2 separate regions of the Homo sapiens genome follow, and region 1 is linked to region 2. Evidence: promoter capture Hi-C in human tissues and cell types (Jung and others, 2019). All regions are on one chromosome and are shown on one strand. The core of a region is centred on a gene start or on the middle of the fragment in contact, and the rest is flanking DNA. Distances in the headings are between cores, read along the strand shown.

What was found. The method cuts DNA at HindIII sites, captures the fragments that hold promoters and counts their contacts. A contact is called where the count stands out against the background at its distance.
Region 1: a fragment that was not itself captured here is called in contact with the fragment with the promoter of MVB12B in region 2 in 1 of the 25 tissues and cell types used here (mesendoderm cells).

Annotation. Positions count from the first base shown.
Region 1 is chr9:125,310,768-125,317,733 of GRCh38, forward strand. It overlaps GAPVD1 (GTPase activating protein and VPS9 domains 1), which reads left to right. Exons shown (of 28, transcript NM_001282680.3): 9 at 1,685-1,845. Among named protein-coding and RNA genes, the nearest start is that of GAPVD1, 52 kb to the left of the region's middle. The HindIII fragment of the contact is 9,652 bases long and covers 1-6,966 here.
Region 2 is chr9:126,324,389-126,330,908 of GRCh38, forward strand. MVB12B (multivesicular body subunit 12B) reads left to right here and starts at 2,441. Exons shown (of 10, transcript NM_033446.3): 1 at 2,441-2,622. The coding sequence starts at 2,542. RefSeq lists a silencer at 2,426-2,565 and an enhancer at 3,007-3,658. The HindIII fragment of the contact is 8,205 bases long and covers 1-5,675 here.

The DNA.
Region 1 (6,966 bases), core at 978-3,477, 1.0 Mb before region 2:
CCTCAGGAGATCCACCCACCTCAGCCTCCCAAAGTGCTGAGATTACAGGCGTGAGCCACCGCGCCCAGCCTTCTTCTTTTTTTTTTTTTTAGACGGAGTTTCGCTTTTATCGCGCAGGCTGGAGTGCAATACTGCGATCTCGGCTCACTGCAACCTCCGCCTCCCGGGTTCAAGTGATTCTCCTACCTCAGCCTCCCAAGTAGTTGGGATTACAGGTGCCTGCCACCATGCCCGGCTAATTTTTTGTATTTTTAGTAGAGACGGGGTTTCACCATGTTGGCCAGGCTGGTCTCAAACTCCCGACCTCAGGTGATCCACCTGCCTCAGCCTCCCAGAGTGCTAGGATTACAGGTGTGAGCCACTACACCCAGCAATTATTTTAGAAAAAAATATTTTTCATCTGCTTATACACAGGGGAAAGAAACAAAAATAATTGAAGCCTTTATTAATTTATACTGTTTCCAAAGCAGAAAGGACCTCTTCTCCAAACATAAATAAATTTTCTCTCTTTTATCTTTGAAAAGACATTAATGCATTTCAGGGGGGGAAGGTACATTTAAAAACTGATTCTGGGCTGGGCACGGTGGCTCATGCCTGTAATCCCAGCACTTGGGGAAGCCAAGGTGCGTGGATCACCTGAGATCAGGAGTTCAAGACCAGCCTGAGCAACATGGCAAAACCCCGTCTCTACTAAAAGTACAAAATTCACCAAGTGTGGTGGTGTCTGCCTGTAATCCCAGCTACTTGGGAGGCTGAGGCAGGAGAATTGCTTGAACCCAGGAGGCGGTGATCGCAATGAGCCGAGACTGCGCCATTGCACTGTAGCCTGGGCAACAAGAGTGAAACTCCGTCTCAAAAAAACCAACACTGATTCTGGTTTTGTTAACAGTTGCCTAACTTAAAGTATCCTATTTATGTGGCTATTAGGTTTTCATATAAAATTTTCTTTATTGTTTCTTTTTTTTTTTTTGAGATGGAGTCTCACTCTGATGCCCAGGCTGGAGTGCAGTGGTGCAAACTTGGCCCACTTCAGTCTCCGTCTGCCTGGTTCAAGTGATTCTCCTGTCTCAGCCCCCCGAGTAGCTGGGATTACAGGTGCATGTCACCATGCCTGGCTAATTTTTTGTATTTTAGTAGAGATGGGGTTTCACCGTGTTGCCCTGGCTGGTCTCGAACTCCTGAATTCAGGCAATCCACCTGCCTCAGCCTCCCAAAGTGCTAGGATTACAGGAGTAATCCCTCATATGAAATTTTCTAATGCTTGTAAGCTCAGTTATTGGTATGGGAGACCTGTAGCAGTTACATCAATTTATAGGAAAAATAGTGAAGGTATCTTAAAAAGATAAGAAATGAGGTAATGCTTTTCTTGTCACTCCAAGTCTTAAATTTATTGTGACATGTTTGCTGTTCTGCAGATGTGATCATCTGTGTGGCACTTCCTGTCAGATGCACTTGGATCATTGTTCTTGATTATCAGTTTTGAAGGAGAATCTTTATTAGTCAGTAGAGTAACTGGGAGGATCTGGTTTGTTTTGTTTTGTTTTGTTTTTTCTTATTTATATTTTTTACCACTCTTGTGCATGTGCAAATGTTCTGCACTAATAGAAAATATATTCATATTTAGCATACCATTTTCTTCATTTGTCTATTTCTCTAAATTATTTTATTTGAAATTTTTTATTAGCAACTCGGAGCAGAAGCCGCACCAATATGCTAATGGACCTACATATGGACCATGAAGGATCATCTCAAGAAACCATTCAGGAGGTGCAACCAGAAGAGGTGTTGGTCATTTCCTTAGGTACAGGTCCCCAGCTTACTCCAGGGATGATGTCAGAAAATGAGGTATGAATCAGTTGCTTCTATAAATCAATATTCATGTCTTAGTCCATACAGGCTGCTGTAACAAAACACCAGAGGTTGGGTGGCTTATAAACAACAGATATTTATTTCTCACATTTGTAGAGGCCAGGAAGTCTATAGTCAAGGCAGATTCAGTGTCTTGTAAGGATCTGTTTACTGGTTCATAGATGATGTATTCTTGCTGTGTCTTTGGGCTTATTTTTTTTTGAGATGGAGTGTCACTCTTGTTGCCCAGGCTGGAGTGCAATAGCACGATCTCAGCTCACTGCAACCTCCCAATCCCGGGTTCAAGCAATTCTCCTGCCTCAGCCTCCTGAGTAGCTGGGATTACAGGCATGCATCACCATGCCCAGCTAATTTTGTATTTTTAGTAGAGACAGGGTTTCTACATGTTGGTCAGGCTGGTCTCAAACTCCCCAACTGAGGTGATCCGCCTGCCTTTGCCTCCCAAAGTGCTGAGATTACAGGTGTGAGCCACCGCGCCTGGCTGGTTGGGCTATTTTATAAGGGCACTTATTCCATTTGTGAGGGCCCTGCCTTCATGACCTAATCACCTCTCCAAAGGCCCGATCTCCAAATACCATCACCTTGGGGGTTAGAATTTCAACATACAGATTTTGGGGGAGCACAAACATTCAGATCCTAGCAATGAATTTTTTTTTTTCTTTTTCTTTTTCTTTTTTTTTTTTTTGAGACAGAGTCTCACTCTGTCACCTAGGCTGGAGTGCAGTGGCACGATCTCAGCTCACTGCAAGCTCTGCCTCCCGGATTCACACTGTTCTCCTGCCTTAGCCTCCCAAGTAGCTGGGACTACAGGTGCCCGCCACCACGCTCGGCTAATTTTTTGTATTTTCAGTAGAGAAGGGGTTCCACCGTGTTAGCCAGGATGGTCTCGATCTCCTGACCTCGTGATCCACCTGCCTCGGCCTTCCAAAGTGTTGGGATTACAGGCGTGAGCCACCGTGCCCAGCCATTTTTTTCTTTTTTTTTGACATGGAGTGTCACTCTGTTGCACAGCTGGAGTGCAATGGTGCGATCTTTGCTCACCACAGCCTCTGCCTCCTGGGTTCAAGCAATTCTCCTGCCTCAGCCTCCTGAGTTGCTGGTCTTACAGGCATGTGCCACCACACCCGGCTAACTTTGTATTTTTAGTAGAGACGGGGTTTTGCCATGTTGGCCAGACTGGTCTCGAACTTCTGACCTCCAGTGATCCACCCACCTTGGCCTCCCAAAGTGCTGGGATTACAGGTGTGAATCACTGCACCCAGCCAATGAATTTAATGCTTAATTCTTTGTTATCTTCAGTGGTCCCACCATGACACACCATCACATGCTAAGCTCCCTGTGAACAGTTGTGAGGCCCTTCACATTAATACATCTGTGGCACTGAGGTTGGTGAATAGGTCCAAGCATAAGGAATTTTCCAGGCAGTAGCAGAAGAGAGATGAAGCCAGGAGATTGTGGTATGGAAATTAAAGAGACTTTTCCAGTGACTTGTAGGAAATGTTTTGTGTTCATTTTCTTTCTAGTGGTATACTAGTAGTATTCCTGCATTATAGAGCCAAAAATATGTTGAGATGTATTTTGAGATACATGTTGTATTCTTTGGCTGGTCAGGAAAAAATGGAAGAAATAATGGAAAACTAAGAAAATAAATTTTTTTAAGAAATGGAGTTTGAGGCTTGGGAATCATTTTTAATATATTTGTAACAAAAAGCTTGGCTTAAAGGTGAATGAAAAGAAGGTCAGGCCTGGTGGCTCACACCTATAATCCCAGCACTTTGGGAGGCCGAGGTGGGTGGATCCCCCGAGGTCAGGAGTTCGAGACCAGCCTGACCAACATAGTAAAACCCCATCTTTACTAAAAATAAAAATTAGCTGGGTGTGGTGGCGCATGCCTGTAATCCCAGCTACTTGGGAGGCTGAGACAGGAGAATCGCTTGAACCCGGGACGTGGAGGTTGCAGTGAGCTGAGATCGCCCCATTGCACTCCAGCCTGGGCAACAAGAGTGAAACTCTGTCTCAAAACAAAACAAAACAAAACAAAAAACAGAAAAAAGAAACAAAAAGACAAGAAGAAGAAATCTTGACTCCCTAAAGATAGGAGTCTCTTCTCATAGAATTGTGAAATTGTGACCTCCTGAAAAAGTAGCAGCTTCTTTTTTTTTTTTTTTTGAGACGGAGTCTCACTCTGTCACCCAGGCTGGAGTGCAGTGGTGCGATCTCGGCTCACTGCGAGGTCCACCTCCCGGGTTCACGCCATTCTCCTGTCTCAGCCTCCCTAGCAGCTGGGACTACAGGCGCCCGCCACCACGCCCGGCTATTTTTTTGTATTTTTAGTAGAGACAGGGTTTCACCATGTTAGCCAGGATAGTCTCGATCTCCTGACCTCGTGATCCGCCCACCTCGGCCTCCCAAAGTGCTGGGATTACAGGTGTGAGCCATCGTGCCCTGCCAGTAGCAGCTTCTTATATTCAACAGTGATTGCTTGTTATTCAAGAAAATGGGCTAGAAAGAAGAGGCCAGTTTTAGTGATTGATAAAGTGATGGTGGTTGGTAAAGCTGTGTTTGGGACTATGACATGATACCCCATAGGGAAGAAGACCAACAATCTTCGAAACTCCATCCTCCACACACACACACAAATAAGCTGGCAAAAACTGTCAGAATCAACTTATTTGGAACTCTGGAATCTAATAAAAAACTTTTAACAACAAAGGAATGCTTAATGAAGAAAAAGACTGCTGAATTTTGTTAAGAGAGCTCTGTGATCCTACCCTGTTACCATCTTCAACCCCCAGCCCAGTGGCTGCTTTGAAGACAGCTTATATTACTGTGCAGTGTGCTGGTACTTGAGGGAGGAATGTGGACCTTATTCTGAAAGCAGCATGGTTGTGTATTTTGATCTGTCTGGTAGGTCCTGAAAGATCGTCTCAAAGGCTTGGCTTTGTTTTGCCTGCCTCTGATCTTTCCCAGGGCCGAGGCAGCTACACAGGTGGCATTTGTCAAAAGTATTGAAAAGCAGATATATTAGTTGCTTCTGCTTGCATTAAGGGATAACAGTCAGGGCAATCCGCATACAGATCCAAATGCTTATGAAGGAAGAGGCTTGGGAAGGAGACACCAGGGGGCACAAAGGCTTTGAAAAGCTCCCACGTGTTCTGGGGAATCTACCAGGTTGTACACATACCCAGGGCTGGTCATGTGCTCAGGAAAGACCCTAGAAGATCCAAGCTCTCACTGCTGGGTAACCTTCAGGCTGAACCCAAGTAGGAAGTGAAGGCTAAGGTACAGTTGCAAACTGCCTGGCTAAGTGTTGAAGTTCCCCAAAACAGAGCCAATCTTCAAAGACTTGGAAATGTTTTGTTTTGTTATTCCAGGTGTTAAATCTGCCAAATCACGTGCTCACCACTAAGCTAACAGAACAGAAACTTCAGAGGCCACACATGACAGAAAATTTAGAGAGATCATTAAATAGTCACTACAACAAGCAGCAACAACCAACTAGGGGTTAAGGGTATATAATCTGATTTCCAGAATTGCCACTTTGTAACATTTATTTGTTTATTTTTTATTTTAATTTTTTTATTATACTATAAGTTCTGGGATACATGTGCAGAACGTGCAGGTTTGTTACATAGGTATACATGTGCCATAGATCTACATTAGATATTTCTCCTAATGATATCCCTCCCCTAACCCCCTACCCCTGCGACAGGCCCCAGTGTATGATGTTCCCCTCCCTGTGTCCATGTATTCTCATTGTTCAACTCCCACTTATGAGGGAGAACATGCGGTGTTTGGTTTTCTGTTCCTGCATTAGTTTGCTGAGAATGATGGTTTCCAGCTTCATCTGTATCCCTGCAAAGGACATGAACTAATCCTTTTTTATTGCTGCAAACCACTATGGCACATGTATCCCTGCAAAGGACATGAACTAATCCTTTTTTATGGCTGCATAGTATTCCATGGTGTATATGTGCCACGTTTTCATTATCCAGTCTATTGTTGATGGGCATTTGGGTTGGTTCCAAGTCTTTGCTATTGTGAATAGTGCTTCAATAAACGTATGTGTGCATGTGTCTTTATAGTAGAATGATTTATAATCCTTTGGGTATATACACCCAGTAATGGGATTGCTGGGTCAGATGGTATTTCTGGTTCTAGATCCTTGAGGAATTGCCACACTGTCTTCCATAACAGTTGAACTAATTTACACTCCCACCAACAGTGTGAAAGTGTTCCTGTTTCTCCACATTCTCTCCAGCATCTGTTGTTTCCTGACTTTTTAATGATCACTTTATAATATTTAAAATGTCTGCTTTTCAGCAAAACTTATGAGGCATATAAAGAAACAAAAATATGGCCCTTTCACAGGAAAAAAGTTAATAGAAAATGTCCTTGATGGGCCAGGCGCAGTGGTTCATGGCCGTAATCCCAGCACTTTGGGAGGCGAAGGTGGGCTGTTCATGAGGTCAGGAGTTCGAGACCAGCCTGACCAACATGGTGAAACCCCGTCTCGACTAAAAATACAAAAATTAGCCAGGCGTGGTGGTGTGCACCTGTAATATCAGCTACTCAGGAGGCTGAGGCAGGAGAATCGCTTGAACCTGGGAGGCGGAGGTTGCAGTGAGCCAAGATTGCGCCATTGCACTCTAGCCTGGGCAATACAGCGAGACTCTGTCTCAAAAAAAAAAAAAGAAAACGTCCTTGATGGCCGGGCGGTGGCTCACGCCTGTAATCCCAGCACTCTGGGAGGCTGAGGTGGGTGGATCACCTGAAGTTGGGAGTTTGAGACCAGCCTGAGCAACATGGAGAAACCCTGTCTCTACTAAAAATACAAAATTAGCCAGGCCTGGTGGCACATGCCTGTAATCCCAGTTACTCGGGAGGCTGAGGTAGGAGAATCGCTTGAACTTGGGATGTAGAGGTTATGGTGAGCTGAGATTGTGCTGTTGTACTCCAGCCAGGGCAACAAGAGCGAAACTCTGTCTCAAAAAAAAAAAAAAAAAGAAAAGAAAGAAAAGAAAGAAAATGGCCTTGATGAAGCACAGACATTGGACTTACTCAAGACTTTAAATCAATTTTTTTTTTAATATACTT
Region 2 (6,520 bases), core at 1,191-3,690:
CCAAACTCACTCATCTTCCCTTAGAGTGGAGAGAGGCCAGAAGTCTTATTCTAATGGAAGTCCCTCTATATGGAAAAGAAGGCTTCTCCCTTCAATACCATAAGACAGGGTAAGGAAGAAAAAAAAGAATAATAATAATAATAATAATAATAATAATAAGAAGAAGAAGAAGAAGAAGAAGAAGGAAGGAGAAGGCTTCTCCCTTAACATTTAGGAAAACCATTGATTTTGGTGTTTATCTTATAACTGACCACCTTACCAAAGTCTCTATGATTTTTAGTTGATTTTTTTTATTTTTACTTTTTGGGAAACACTTAAATCATAAGCAAATAATGACAATTTTATCTCTTCCCTTCTAATATTTATATTTCTTATTTATTTTTCTTATCTTATTGCATTGGCTTTATTCTATAGCCATTATAGCAGGCATCCTTTTGACTGACTTACATGAGAATACCTTTAGTGTTTCACCATTAAATATGTTTGTTGATGGCTTCTGATAAACTTTGTCATGTTAAAAGTTTAAACTTTCTTCCTATAATAGTTTACTAAGAGTTTTTAGAAATTTATGGGTCATTAGTTTTGAAGTTTATAAAATACTTTTAAAGCATCTATCCCATTGATAATATCCTGTAATTTGTTTTCCTTTAACAATGCAATGCATTTACAAATTCCCTAATGTTGGATTTTTCTTGCGCCTCTGGAATAAATCTTGCTTGATCATGGTGGGTTTTCAGTTGCTTTAATAGTAAACTGGATTCAAATGGCTAAAATTGTATTTAATAGTTTTACGACTATTATATACTTAAATATATAGTGCAGATTCACATATTGAGGATTTATCAGTGAGCTTTAGAAGGTGGTCCTGGCTCAGATGAGTTTGGGAAATGCCAGGTTAAACAAACCAAACAGGTTTCTTTACTCCTGGACTTCACAGAGGCCTTCCTTAATATACGAATACTTATCGTGATTCTCCAAAAGGTACACTATAAACGGCATGCAGCACTTTCTCAAGTTGCCCACAGAAGCCCATTTTCAAAAAATAAATATTAAATTCTCTGGGGACTCGTGTTCTAGGTTAGTCATCTGCAGTTCTTTTTGGTATTGTCTGTTGGATTTTGGTATCAGGGTTATGCTAAACTTGGGAAATGAAATAAAAATTTTTGTTTCTTTTGTTTATTTTTTCCTGTGTAACAGTTTAAGTAACATAGGGATGATCTGTGCCCTGATGGGAGGATAAGGCTTGCTGTAAAGCCATCTGAACCCATGGCATTTCTGAGTAGTGAAGACACTGGGAATGCACACGTGCATGGCTTCCCTACAGGATGTTTCCCCCGACAGCCCATTCTGCTTGGCACCCTTCTCTTTAGGATCAAACAGCTATTATGGAAAAGCCTAGAATGTGTGAAAATGAGACTCAATGCATTAGCAAATCAATGCTGATCACTCCTGCATGGTCCTCAAGTCCTAACGAATGCTCCAGCCTCCTGGCAGGAAACCTTTCAAATCTTGCACACGCTGGCCTCTGCCTGGGGTGCCTGGCTGGGCGGTGTGGGGGGCATGGTTGGTTAAGGCGCAGAGTCCGCCTTTCCTACCAGCCACTCTAGCTGAGGGTCAAGCTCTGGACCCTCCCCCAACCATCCAGCTCCATTTTATCCTTGGCTTATGCCTTCCCCAAGTACTGCAGGGTAGGACTCCTGCTAAAAACTTCTTCTAGATGCTTGCCTGAGGCTGGCCCCATAAACCTGATTCTAGGCTTCTGGGGATAAATCATCTAACTAATATAAGAGAATTGCTAGGCAATTGGGGTTAGTTTGAGACGACTGGCTGAGCTCACCTTAGGTGAGCTGGGGGGTGGGGGAAGATGAGCTGAAGGATTCTAGGGTTCAGTGAAGCCTAGAATGGCTGGGTGGGCGGAGAGTCCTTAGAAGGGTCCAACTTCTAGCCTGAGGGCCTGGGGGCTTCCAGGGATCTGCAGCCGAGCGGAAGACCGGTCTTGCGTACAGCGAGGCCTACGAGAGCTAAGTGGGCTGAGGGTCCCTGGAAAAGACCAGCCTGGGGGCGGGGACCATCGATGCCCCAGGCTCTAGAGGCCGTGGGCTCCCGGGGGCCTGAGGCTGGACTGGGGTCGCCGGCGGGCTCGGGGAGGCCCGGGTGGGCGCACCGGGGCCCTGCCTGCGGCTGACGGGCTGGGTCGAGGGGGAGGCTGGGGAGGCGGGGTGCCGGCCGGGGCGGCGGCGCGGGCTCGGGACGCCAGGGCTCCCTCTCCCTCCTCCCGCCCGAGCCAGCCTCGGGCGCCGGGCGCCTCCCCCGATCCTGAACCAGCGCCAGCGCCGGGAGGCCCGGAGCCCGGCCCGCCGCCGCGGCCCGCGGAGGGAGCCGCCGCCGCCACTGCCGTTGTCGCCGCCGCCGCCAGGCCGCGCCCCGCCCCTCCGCCGCCGCCGCCGCCGCCGCCGCTCTCGGTGAGGCTCGCGCTCGAGCTGCGGCGCCGGCTCCTGCCGCCTGGGCCCCGGGCCCGGCCCCTCCCGCGCCGCCCGGGCGATGAGAAGCTGCTTCTGCGTGAGACGGAGCCGGGACCCGCCGCCGCCGCAGCCACCGCCGCCGCCGCCCCAGCGGGGAACAGTTAAGTGAGGCCCGGGCGCCGCGGAGGCTCGGCGGAGCCGGCCCTGCAGCCGGGAGGGCGGGCGGGCGGGCGCGGGCCCCCGGCCGAGGGGCGGGCGGACGGGAGGAGCCGGGCCGCGCCGAGGCCTGCGGGCTCCGTGCCCGGCCCGCGGCGGGGACAGGCCCGGGCGGCCTTTGCAGAGCCCCGAGCGCGCCGCGGCTGCCGGTGCCCGGGCTCGGCCTGGCGGCGAGAGGCGGGAGAAGCTGGGGGACCCGAGTGCCAGCAGCGCCCCCAAGGCCCGGGCAGGTGAGGGGCGCCGAGAGCCACCTCTGCCCGCGTGAGAGGGAGGCGGCCCACCTGGGCACAGACTGGGAACAGTCAATCGTTTGACCGGCCTGGCCTGGGGTCCTGCTCTCTCTGGTCACGTGGGTGCAGACCAACGTGCACCTGCCCCAGGAGCATCACTGCCTCTGTGACCTGGGCACAGCAGAGAGGACACCTAAACCCTCAGGCACCTGTCTGGAAGGTGACATGCCCAGCCTGGGTACCCGAGACCCAGAGCACCCATCCAGGAACATGGTGGGCACGTCGAGCACCCTACAGTGACTCCAACACCAGCGAGACGGGAGGAGCAGGGGCTGGGACAAGAGCTGAGGCATGGCACCAGGGGACATCACATCCTCAGAGGCAGGCACCAGGGAACGGGGTAGACCCAAGAGCATCTTTTGTCCTCTTTGTTACCAACACACAACTGTTCTAAATCAGCAGCCCTTCTCACCATGAAAGATGAGACTCTTCTGTTCCCTGCCCCTCAACACCTCTTGCACAAGGCACTGAGGAAGACCACAGGAGGGCAAAAGGCAAATGGTGGTTGCCCCTTCCCTGCTTCCTGCCCCCACCCAAGAACCAGAGCCCACTCCGATTGCTGCCACAAAAGCAGACAGCAGACCAGCTCCTCTTAGGGGCCTTTGTCTCTCGTGGTTCCTTCTCAGTATAATCTCATTGTACATTTCTCGACAGCTGGCTGGATCTCATCTCGTTTTAACAGGGCTGGGAAATCTTATCAGCGGCACCAGGAAAGCTTAGAGAGTTAAAAAATAAGCTCTGTGAAGCCTTGACTAACTGAAAAACTCAATGTGCTAGGATGTTTAGTTACAGTAGATGGTGACACCTTTCTTGCTTGTTAGAAATCATGTGGGGTCCTTGGAGATACTGTACCATGCTCAGAATCTTTAAATAGGGCCTCAGAGAGATGAGGCTTCTGCTTGGGACCCGGGCTCCAAGCCCCATGGGAAGCAGTTGACGTGGCGATTACTGGTTCATTTAAACCTAAACTTACCTTCTGTAATCCATATTTTTCATTCCTTCCTTCTAGGCTTTAGGTCACACTCCTAATTTAGGTTCAAGGCATTTTTCTTGCCCTGTCTCCATCCTGCTAGGGACCTTTTACCACTTCCAACTGGAATGTTGTGCCATGGTTATGTGCAGGGAGTTTAGAATTAGCCCTCAGCTTAAGTCTTGGCTTTCCTACTTACTTTGTGCCCTTGGACAAATTATTGAACTTTTCTGAGTTTCAGTTTCCTCATCTGTAGAGTGAAACTAATGATAGTATTCATCTCATGGGATTATGGCGTGATGTAAATGAAATTTTGCAAGAAAAGTCTAGCTCAGTGCCTGCTACATGGCAAGAAGTCAGTAAACGGTAGGGGTCATTATGAGAGGTTTGTTAACGGATGAATGAGAGGAGTAGCTTATTTATTTATTTTTAGAGTTTCTTTCTGTCTGCTTTTTTTTTGGTTTTTGTTTGTTTTTGAGACAGGGTCTCACTGTCACTCAGGCTGGAGTGCAGTGGTACCATCATGGCTCACTGCAGCCTTGAACTCCTGGACTCAAGCGATTCTCCCACCTCAGCCTCCCAAGTATAGGTGCCTGCCACCACGCTCGGCTGTTTTTTTAAATTATTATTATTTTTAGTAGAGTTGGGGTCTTGCTATGTTGCCCAAGCTGGTCTTGAACACCAGAGCTTAAGTAATCCTCCCACCTTGGCCTCCCAAATTCCTGGGATTACAGGCATGAGCCACCACGCCTGGCCTATTATTTAGTCTTCAACGGGACAACCAGGAAGTGATGGTATAGTAGAAAGAACACTGGACTTGGATTTAGGAGCTTGAGTTTGACTCTCAGGCTACCTCCTGGACCCCAGGTGACCCTAGGGGAGTCACAGAACCTTTCTGAATCCCCATTTCTGTAATGTAAAAGTGTCTTAAGAACAAAGCCTACCCCATAAAGCTAATCAGTCAAGAAGAGCTGAAGGAGCTAATGTATGTGACTGCACTTGGCACTGCAGGAGGTGGCGGTCCTCATGAAATTTAAGTGTGCGATTCAGCATCCAGCAGCAGATCATGGTGTTTTTTTCAGGTCCGATGTTTATACAGTTTGTTGCGGGGAGAGCATTAAGAAAAAGAATACAAGAATATCCTGTGTTTGTACATGTTACAGAACCACGCCACCATGTGAGCACACTGCTGGATGCCCTCTCAGGGCCTTGGAAGGGGTAAGGGAGAAGTGTAGTCTCTATCCATTTCATGGAGGATCTTCTCCTGGGGGGATCAGAATCCAAATGGCATAGGCCCCTCTGTCTGAGTTTGCTGGAAGTGCTCCATACTCAAAGGGAGACATCCTTGCCACACTGCAAAATAATGATGGTGCTGGAGTCAAGCATGGGAAAAGTCGAAGGTGCTATTATGATGATGAAGATAACAAATGACTACATGGCTGGATGTGGTTAGGCTGAGCACACTGTGTTGCAGAGCCTCCTTTGCAGGTTGGGTTGTGGAGGGGAGGCCTGGGTTTCTTGAATAGACTCCTTCTCCCCAGGCTGCTCTGGCTCTCACCGAGGCCCACCCTGGCCAGCATTTCCCCAACCCACCCCGCCCCCAACCCCGGCTCTCCTTGGCCTTCTGCTTGCTGGGCTGCCCTAGGGAATCGTGGCTTCCCTGCGCTGTCTGCACTAGTTGCAGTGGGTTTGCCAGAGTCAGGTCTCCTGTCTCCGGCTGCCTGGGAGGCAAAGCCACTGCAGAGTGTGCTTGACATTACCTCCCTTGTTGGGGACATCCTGTGGGCATGCATTTGGTTTACTTGACACGCTTCTGGCGAGATGCAGAGCTTGTCCAGGCAGAAATGTGAGAGCCCTGTGGGCCTGGAGCCCAGGGGTTGCACATAGTAGCTTTGTGGCTCATACTTCCCTTAGGACTGGAGGGCCATCTTGTTGGACCTGTGGCAGGAGTCAACATGAGTTTGTTCTTTCTTTCTTTACACACACACACACACACACATACACACACACTTAAAAAAAACAGATTCTAATCAGCAGAGCAGAATATTCAAAAGAATATCCCCTGATCCTTTAGAAGAGAGAAATAAATGAGTTTGTAATGCACTAAATATGCCTGTGGTGTTGATGAAAATGCAGATTCTAGGACCTCATACTCAGACTTTATTGAGTCAGAATCTCTGGGGAACGGGACCTGGAATCTGCAGTCTTAACAGACACCTTGGGTTATACTTCTTCTTACTGAAATTAGAGACCTACAGTTCTTGATGCTTTCTAAAAAAGTGTTAAATACACGTAACATAAAATTGACCATCCTACTCATCTTTAAGTGCACAGATCGGTGGCATTATGCACATTCACACTGTGGTGCAACTAAGCTCCAGAACTTTTCATCTTGCAAAACCGAAACGCTGTGCTCATAAAACAACTTTGCATTTCCCCCTTTCCTGACCCCTGGCAACCACCATTCTGCTTTGTGTTTCTGTGAGTTTGACTACCCTAGGTAGTCAAACTGTGTGATCCTAGTGGATCATACAGTATTTGTCTTTTTGTGACTGGCTTGTTTAGTTTAGCATACTGTCCTC